2 separate regions of the Homo sapiens genome follow, and region 1 is linked to region 2. Evidence: promoter capture Hi-C in human tissues and cell types (Jung and others, 2019). All regions are on one chromosome and are shown on one strand. Each heading gives the region's core, a stretch centred on a gene start or on the middle of the fragment in contact. The rest is flanking DNA. Distances are from core to core; before and after follow the strand shown. Region 1 has its middle 31 kb from the start of LINC00310. Region 2 holds the start of MRPS6 (mitochondrial ribosomal protein S6).

Region 1 (4,349 bases), core at 953-3,452, 76 kb before region 2:
CATACCACGAATAAGAATCCACAAAACAATGAGTTGTAGCTGCATATATATGTATCAAAAATATAAAATATGGATATAAATGATACACACTGACTGATAATGGTTTGGGTCTGTGTCCCTGCCCAAATCTCATGCTGAATTGTAATCTCCAGTGTTGGAGAAGGGGCCTGGTGGGAGGTGACTGGATCATGGGGGCAGTTTCTGGTGGTTTAAGATCATCCCCCTAATTGTTGTCATGGCAATAGTGAGTGTTACTGTGAGATCTGGTTGTTTAAAAATGTATAGCCCCTCCCCACTTTCTCTCTTCCTTCTGCTCCAGCCATGTAAGACACACCTCCTTCCACTTCACCTTCTGCCATGATTGTAAGTTTCCTGAGGCCTCCCCCAAAAGCCGAGCAAATGCCGGCACCACACTTCCCATACAGCCTGCAGAACCATAAGCCAATTAAACTTCTTTTCTTTATAAATTACCCAGTCTTGGGTATTTCTTCATGGCAGTGCAAGAACAGACTATTACACTGACTTTAGATATGGCTACCTCTTGAGGGAAGGAATAGGATAAGAGGGGGTACAAAGGATTTCAACTATACCTAATATTTTCTTTAAAATAAAAGCTCTGAAAGATATATAGCAAAAATACAGTATCTATTAAATCTGAGTGGTAAGTTCCTCAAATTTGTTACATTAACTTGTTATTTTTAGGTATGTTTGGATTTTTTACAAACATAGGTTTCTAGTTTCTCAATCCATGTGCCAGTTTTAGGAAAGGAAAGGGAGTACGAATAGCGCTACAAGGTGAGGACACTCACTGTTACAGCGTCATGCTTGCCAGAACAGAGATTTAACCCCAAAACCATTTGGGTTAACAGAGCGGTTAACAGAGATTTCTTTAGCATTTTACTTAGCCACATTTATAAATAACTTCTTCATATTATTTTTAGATCTGGTAAGATATATGGAAGAGGAACAAGCTTTTAAAACATTTAACTGCTAACTTTATAAAATCAGCGCCTTTAAAATCCCCTGTGATTTTGCTTTGTGAATGACCCTTTGCTGGTGTTTTAAAAGTAATTAAAATGTATTTGGAGAGTATTTGAAAACTCCTGAGCTGTCATGGTGCCTGCAGAGGAGAGTTGCTATACTTACTAATTATCCCTTTCCTTGGCCTCACTAAACCCCATCCAATCTGCCTGTTCCTGAGGCTGGAAGGTAACAGGAGTACTGCATCCAGGCTCTCCTAGTACAGTCTGGCTCTTTCTGGCCACATCACCAAATTCTCTGCCAAGGTACTTTTCTAAGGGCTCCTTTCAAAGAGAAGGCCCCTTGCTCATGCAGATGTCATAGTTGCCTAGTGGACGGGAGATGGTGGAGGATGAAAGTTTGTGTGCATGAGAAGAGGAGGCAGGATGGTGGGAGACAGACAAGACAAGCAGAGTAAGAAAAATGGTGGGAATCAAACTCCCCTTTTTTGCAGGTAAAAGTTGGAGATTTACAGAAAGATGTCAAAAAGACCCTCAGCAGAAAACTAAGCAAAATTCCTGCATCAAATAGAGCCTATTCTTGTTATCTGCAGTAGTTGTGTTCTTTAAAGTTGCCATCAACACTGACTTAGAGAACCCTGAATTATCGCTCCTAGGGGAAATACAGGGTTAGGTTAGCCTTTGGTCACAACGCTTATGTCAACCCATCAATCCGTGAGCTTGTTTTATGTGTGTTTCGTTTTAAAGACGTTTACTACATACTGTTGATTAACATTGAACTCAAGGCCAATGGCACTAGAACTCATGGCTGAACAAGTTTGTCTAACAGGTATCTTCTCCAAAAGGCACATCACAGCCTTCTTGCGCTTAGAACACAGTCCTGCAGCACTACACTTGGGGGCCATTTGAAACAGCAAAAGCACCATGAAAAAGCACACAAATGCAAAAAAAAAAAATGGCACTAAATAGTGAAAAAGACACTTGTTTACAGTATGAGAGCTGGAACAAGAAGGCAGAGTGTTGCTTTGTTCGACAGGGAACAGACTTGTCAAGTGACTCAAATTCTTTGCTACTCTACACATACCCGTTGAATGACTACAAAAGTATCATGGGTATTCATTTTGAGGACATAAATTTTAGCAAGTAAGCAGACTCGCAAATATGGAATCTGCCAATAATGAGCATCCACGATACCAATTAACAGAGCCTGACACCTCTGTCAAAGTGTAATATCCAGTCTTTCACAAATAGGTGCTTAACATTTTGGTATCCGATTAGACAAAGGATGCTACATCCAAGTCACATCATTTAGCTCAATACAAGCTTTATGGAAACTACAGAGTCTCCCACTTATTTGGAATAGAGAGGTCAAGAGTCCATTTTGCATAATCCTTACTTCAGGCATTGTCTGGTGAACAATGCACCCTTGTCTCTTCCACTCACAATGGAACTGTCTCAAGGCAAATTGCTTTCTCTGAGAAATGTGACGATGCTGGTGTTCTGGAAGCAAAGGTTCAGATGCCACACCCAGACACCAGTGCTGCTCCCCTTCAGCAGCCCAGCGGACCTGAATACTTTGGGGATGAAGTTTGGTTCCATGAGTCTTTTGTTAATCTCACTGGGTTGTGGTGGCACTAGGAATGTGCAGGATTATCCAGGTCTTACTGTTGTCACTTTAGAGGTCAATTTTGGGGGTTGTGGTGTAGCTCTCAAAAAACTACCACCAATATGGACTTTTCGTTTCGACATGGTTTTCCTCCTGCGACTAACAGAATGTGTCTTGCCTGTATTTGGCTGTAAGCCATGTCCCTTAAAGCTTCATTTTCAGAGAACAAAAAGAATGCTGGCAATCTGAGCCCAGCAAATGACTGTGCTGACCTCTGGGACTCCTTTGCTGTTTTCTTGTGATTAAAGACAGGCCTATTCTGTTTAGAATGAGATTACTAGTCAGCCCCACAGAATCCAATGGCAGGTTATGAAAACAACAGCTATGCTTATCAGAACATGAAAAGAAGTGTGCAAAGAATAAGCCTCTAAGAAATTATTTTAACCCTTCCCCACCTCCATATCCTACCAACTACCAAGTTCTTTAATCACTGATGGAATAACTCTTCAGCAAACCAGGCAGTAACTCGGTCCAGGGTATTAGAGACCAGGACAGGCTCTTTGAGACCATCTGCTTCACTGGCCACATTTTCCATGTGAGGACACTTAGACCGGGAGAAGAAACTGAACATGGTCAAGGCTGGTGGGTGGAGAGTTCTCTGAGCAGTTCTCCAACCCAAAGTCCTATGATCATTCCACTACTGCATTTTTTCAAGGTGACCAAGAATCCCACAAATCGCCTTGGAAACTTCCCACCATCAACACCATACTTGTCTGTTTCCAGGTGCAGAAAACAGGCCAGGGACTGGCAGGTAGCATCACAAGGCCATTACAGGTGCCGTCATCTCTCTGCGGAGACCTCCTAACGCAAATGGCAGTAGCCCAGACCACAGCAGAGAGAGAATAATTTGTACTTTTCACACGCTCCTACGCACATTTCAAAGCACACACTGTTCAGGAAGGGGTTGCCTGGCGAGCACTCGCCCTCTCTAGTCCACACTGCCCACCTTCTTGTAGACATCTGCACCCCTTGCCTCAGCCCTCTTTGTACTTCTCCATGGCCAATCAGTGGAATTATTTCCTTCCTCACAAATATGCAGGCAGCATGGGGTTACTCAATTAGGAGGCATGTTTTATAGCAAGTTAACATGCACAAGACTCATTCTTGGCTCTTTGTAAAGATCTTTCAAGAAACCCTGAGCAACCTGACTTCCCAATCTTACCTCCAGCCACAAGCCCTGCAACTCTGACATTTCCACCATCCTTCTCACCATCACACTGTAACTTGCCCCCCTCCCAGGGGTTCCCAAAGCTCACCATGCAGTCTCACCACCTCCCCACCTGGCCCCACTCTCATTCCAGGCACTAGTCAATCTAGTTCTCCCCCGTCCCCGCCCCAGTTTCCTAGCACTTGGTTTAAACATTTGTTATTATATTTATTATGGGCTGTGTTTTAGACAGCTGAACAGTCCAACCCCCACGTGTGAGAGCCCTGAGGCCAGAACACTGCCCCTCTGATCTTTGTATCCTGCCCAGAGCAGCACCTGCCATATGTGTACTCTCAAAAGACACCCGTGGAGCAATGTGGAGAGAAATGAGCAGTGGGAATTACAGAGCAGGGAGAATCATGAGAAAAAAATACCTGGTCTCCAGGAGACACCAACATTTTCTGATGTTCTCAGGATTTCTGTTTGAAGACCTGAGATTTAAAACACTCCCAGGCACAGTGGCTCACACCTGTAATCCCAGCACTTTGGGAGGCCG
Region 2 (3,892 bases), core at 254-2,753:
TTCGGAGTTACATATGCTGGTAAGCAAGGAGGAGGGCCAAAAGGGATATTCAAGAGGCTGAACAGATACTATCTTAACTTCTTCCAAATCCATGAAGAACAAGCTGGGGGACACAATGGCATGCCTGGCCAGGCTGTCTGGACCTCATAGAGAGGCACTGGCGTCCCTTCCCAGTTAACAATATGCAAAGCACACTTCCTAACAATCTCCCGACGCTCCGTGATTGTTAGTTTATCAATTGAGCTTAAGTTCAACCAAACTTGGTAATACTCCTCGCAATTGACCTGGAGCCTAATTTCAAACGTAAAAATGCGTCCACTCCTCTAGCGCTGTAGGAAGCTGTGCTTACAAAGTTCGGACGTGGTACAATGATTTTTGTTTTATTACACCTGGTGGAGAAAAAAAAACATAACACCAAACTACGTTACCGAATTCCGAATTCACGGGAGAATGGGGATTTCGGCGACGACTTGAGGAGTACATGACCCAGGACAGAGGACGAAGTGAGCTGCCTCCGGGCCGCGGGCCCCTGTCCTTGGCCACGCCGTCACCTGAAAGGGGCCGCTGGTTCGCTTAGCATCCCTCCAAACCTGAAATCCCCTACCTCAAGATCAATCAAAAGCAGGGGGAAGAAAGTGTCTTCTGGAGGCGCAAGAAAGGCCACAACTTGGATGAATGAAACTGGGCTAAGGGCACCCGGAGCGGGATTTTCGCTGAAGTCAGAAAAAGAAAAGTCAAAAGATTTTTTTTTAACATGAGAGCGATTGCAAGAGACTGGAATACAGACAACGGCACAAACAAGCTTTGGAGGAACGCTTTATTGGGCGCGGACGTTCCGGGCGGCCGGCGGGCGCTAGAGCGGAGGCGGTCGGCGGCAGCCGGCGGGCGGCGGAGCGGGACGGACCAGGCGGCGGCGGCGGGGCCGGCGACGAGGCAGCTTCACGACTGGCGGGGACGGGCCGGAGTCGGGCTGGGCGCCCGCGCGTGTCCTCCCGCGGACCTTCCACTGGACTCCCGCGGGCCGGCGCCGGGATCGGGGTCGGGGCCCGCTCGGTCCGCCCCGCCCCCCGCCCGGCGGGCCGCTTGCGAGGCACACCCTCCCGGACCGCGCACACGCGCAGGCACACCCCCGCCTCCCGCGCGCACGCGGCCGGGCCCGGCCGGCCCACGCGCGCCCCCTTCCCGCGGACGCCCGCCGCCCGCCCGCCGCCCCGGCCTCCTCCGAGGAGTGCAGGAAGGCCCGGGGTCCCGCGGCCAGGGCGCGCGGGGGACGGCGGCCTAGCGGCAGCGGGGGCGCCCGCGCGGGAAGACCGGCTCTGAGGGAAGGTCACTTACCCGCTGCATGGCTTTCAGGATTAAAGCCAGCTCGTAGCGGGGCATGCCTGGAGGATCGGCGAGTGCGGCTCGGAAGCCAGCCGGTTCCCGGGACGCGAAGGGGCGGGACGGCGGGGACAGTGGGGACCTAGAAACTGCTGCGCCGGACGGCTCCCAGGCGGCGAAAGCACGGTCCGAGAGCGCGAGCCCGGGCTTAAAGGCGCTGGCAGCTGCGCAGACGCCGCGCCACGCCCCCTCGGCGCGCCCCGCCCCGCCCGCGCGCCTTGCCGCCGCCCCGCCCCCTCTCCGCCCGCGGGCGGCCGCCACGCCCCCTCCGCAGCCCCGCACCCGCCGCACCGCCCCCGCCCCGACCCCAGCCCAGCCCGCCGGCCGCGGCTAGGGGCGGTGCTGCAGACGCGGCCCAGAGCGGCTCGCGGCGGCCGCACGCCCCCTCGCGACCCTGCCTGCCCCTACCCCGCCTCCTGCCATGCCTGCTACCTAGCTCTCGAACCGGCTGGAACTTTCCATGCCTTCCTTCTCCTCCCGGGCGGCGGGCGAGTGAGTGCCCGCCAGTGCGCGTGCGCTGCGGTGCGGTCTCGTCCGTGCGCGTGCCCCTCGCCCGCGACTCCCCGGAGCTAGGGACCTTCGCGGCGCAAGGCGGGGTCGCGGCCGGCCCGGGGGCTGTGCGGCCAACGGCTGCTCGCAGGGGTTCTGGAACATTCCCGCCCGGGGTCGGTAGGGGGGTGCAGCTCTCGCCCCCAGCCACAACTCTCAGGTCTGACGCGGCTGACCAGGCCCCCTACCCGGCGAGGAGCGCGCTGGCACAGGCCGTGGGCCGCGGCGCGCGGGCTCGGGTCTGACTCAGTCCCTTGGCACTGCGTGACCTTGGGCCTGCTGCCTGTGCCGAAAGTGGGGACCCGAGTGAGTTACTGCACGTTAACCTCCGAGGACGGTGCCTGGTACACACAGGCGCGATACGGGCATTTGTGGTGTGCCCCTGACCTGCCCCCACGTGTTTCAGCGGAGGGCAGGCGAACACCTTAACTCTATCTCATTTCTTTAAATGTTTCCTCCGCTTTCACTTAAAGGCTAGGCTGAGTGCCTGGGAGACCCTTTAGCAACTGTCTAAGGTGGGCAGGGGCATACGTTCTGCCCTTGCCATCCCTTTACACCCACATGGTTCTCCGCCCTCCAGCCAGGGGCTCTGCAAGTGCAGTTTTCTCCAGCGCCCTTCCTTAGAGGTTGAGTACCCTGCAGCTGAGGCCTCTGCCCCTTGTTTGCCCCATTAAAAGCTCTGTACGTGGAGTGTTTGTCAACTTAAAGTGCTTTAACGTTAATAGGTAAAGTTTAGTGAACACTTACTCTGCATCAGGCCCCATGCCAAGGCTGGTGGATGTGTCTCCTAAAATTCTCACAACAGCCCTGAGGTGACAAAGATTCTTTGCTTGGCCAAACTTTAGTCAGGCTTCTGAATCTCATGCTAGGCCCATCTGTGCACTTCCTTGTAAAATCCAGTTCTAGCACAGAACCCCCATCCCCTCATAGCAGATCAGGTTCCTCATCTTCCTCTATCCCCCAGTCATGTCTTTTCACCCTGGCCTGAGTTCTACAAGAATCCTTTAGATCGGTTGAGCCAGAATCCCTCTTCCCCCGATGGTTACTCTTAGTGATTTTACATGGCCATAAATTTCTACTTGCCGACGCTGCATTCAGAATTGGAGCCCACTCTCTCTCCCCGGGTTTCCCTGATCCCTGTACCCATCGCGTTGGTCCTGAATAAAGTCTTTCTTACCATGCTTTAGTAAGCATCACTGAGTAATTTTTTTAAACAGAGGCAAGCACTGTTAACCCCATATTAGGGATTAGGAAATGTAGGCACAAAAAGTTTTGTAACTAGTCCAAGGTCATACAGTAATAGAAACAAAGTACTTTTAGCCGCCCCTCTACCCTTCTGACCTCCGGTTCTCCTACCACACAGATGAAGATGCTGATTGTTATTCAGTGGATTAACCGTGTAGTCCACGTAAGCCAAGATTAGAGTACCTTTGTCACCTTACCCAGAGGTTACCATTTCACATCCCATGCGTCTATTTGTGACATATGGGAGGTAGGAGATGGAGATGAACCCAAGTTTTTCTGAGATAGCTGGATTTTAACATTTTCTATTTTTAGACTTGTCTACAACCCATACCTGTGTGAAGCCACACAGGTAATCCAAATTGCCTGGCTAAGTGTCAATTAACTTCATGTTTGGTTTAAATAAGTAGCGTACTATAAATAACAGAAGGAAACAAGGAATTTCTGGACCTTCAGAAGTGAGTTACAGGCTGGGTGCAGTGGCCCACGCCCGTAATCCCAATACTTTGGGAGGCTGAGGCGGGTGGATCACCTAAGGTCAGGAGTTTGAGACCAGCCTGGGCAACATCGTGAAATCCTGTCTCTAATAAAAATACAAAAATCAGCTGGGTGCGGTGGCACTTGCCTGTAGTCCCGGCTACTCGGGAGGCTGAGGCAGAAGAATCGCTTGAACCCAGGAGGCGGAGGTTGCAGTGAGCCGAAATCGCGCCACTGCACTCCA

What was found. Contacts are between HindIII fragments. The study calls those that stand out against the background at their distance.
Region 1: a fragment that was not itself captured here is called in contact with the fragment with the promoter of MRPS6 in region 2 in 9 of the 25 tissues and cell types used here (IMR-90 fibroblasts, adrenal gland, dorsolateral prefrontal cortex and 6 more).

Annotation. Positions count from the first base shown.
Region 1 is chr21:34,147,094-34,151,442 of GRCh38, reverse strand. No RefSeq gene overlaps it. Among named protein-coding and RNA genes, the nearest start is that of LINC00310, 31 kb to the left of the region's middle. The HindIII fragment of the contact is 3,436 bases long and covers 485-3,920 here.
Region 2 is chr21:34,071,189-34,075,080 of GRCh38, reverse strand. It overlaps MRPS6 (mitochondrial ribosomal protein S6), which reads right to left and starts at 1,503. Exons shown (of 3, transcript NM_032476.4): 1 at 1,336-1,503. The coding sequence starts at 1,380. It overlaps SLC5A3 (solute carrier family 5 member 3), which reads right to left and starts at 1,503. Exons shown (of 2, transcript NM_006933.7): 1 at 1,336-1,503. RefSeq lists silencers at 846-1,245, 1,536-2,055 and an enhancer at 642-1,592. The HindIII fragment of the contact is 15,607 bases long and covers 1-3,892 here.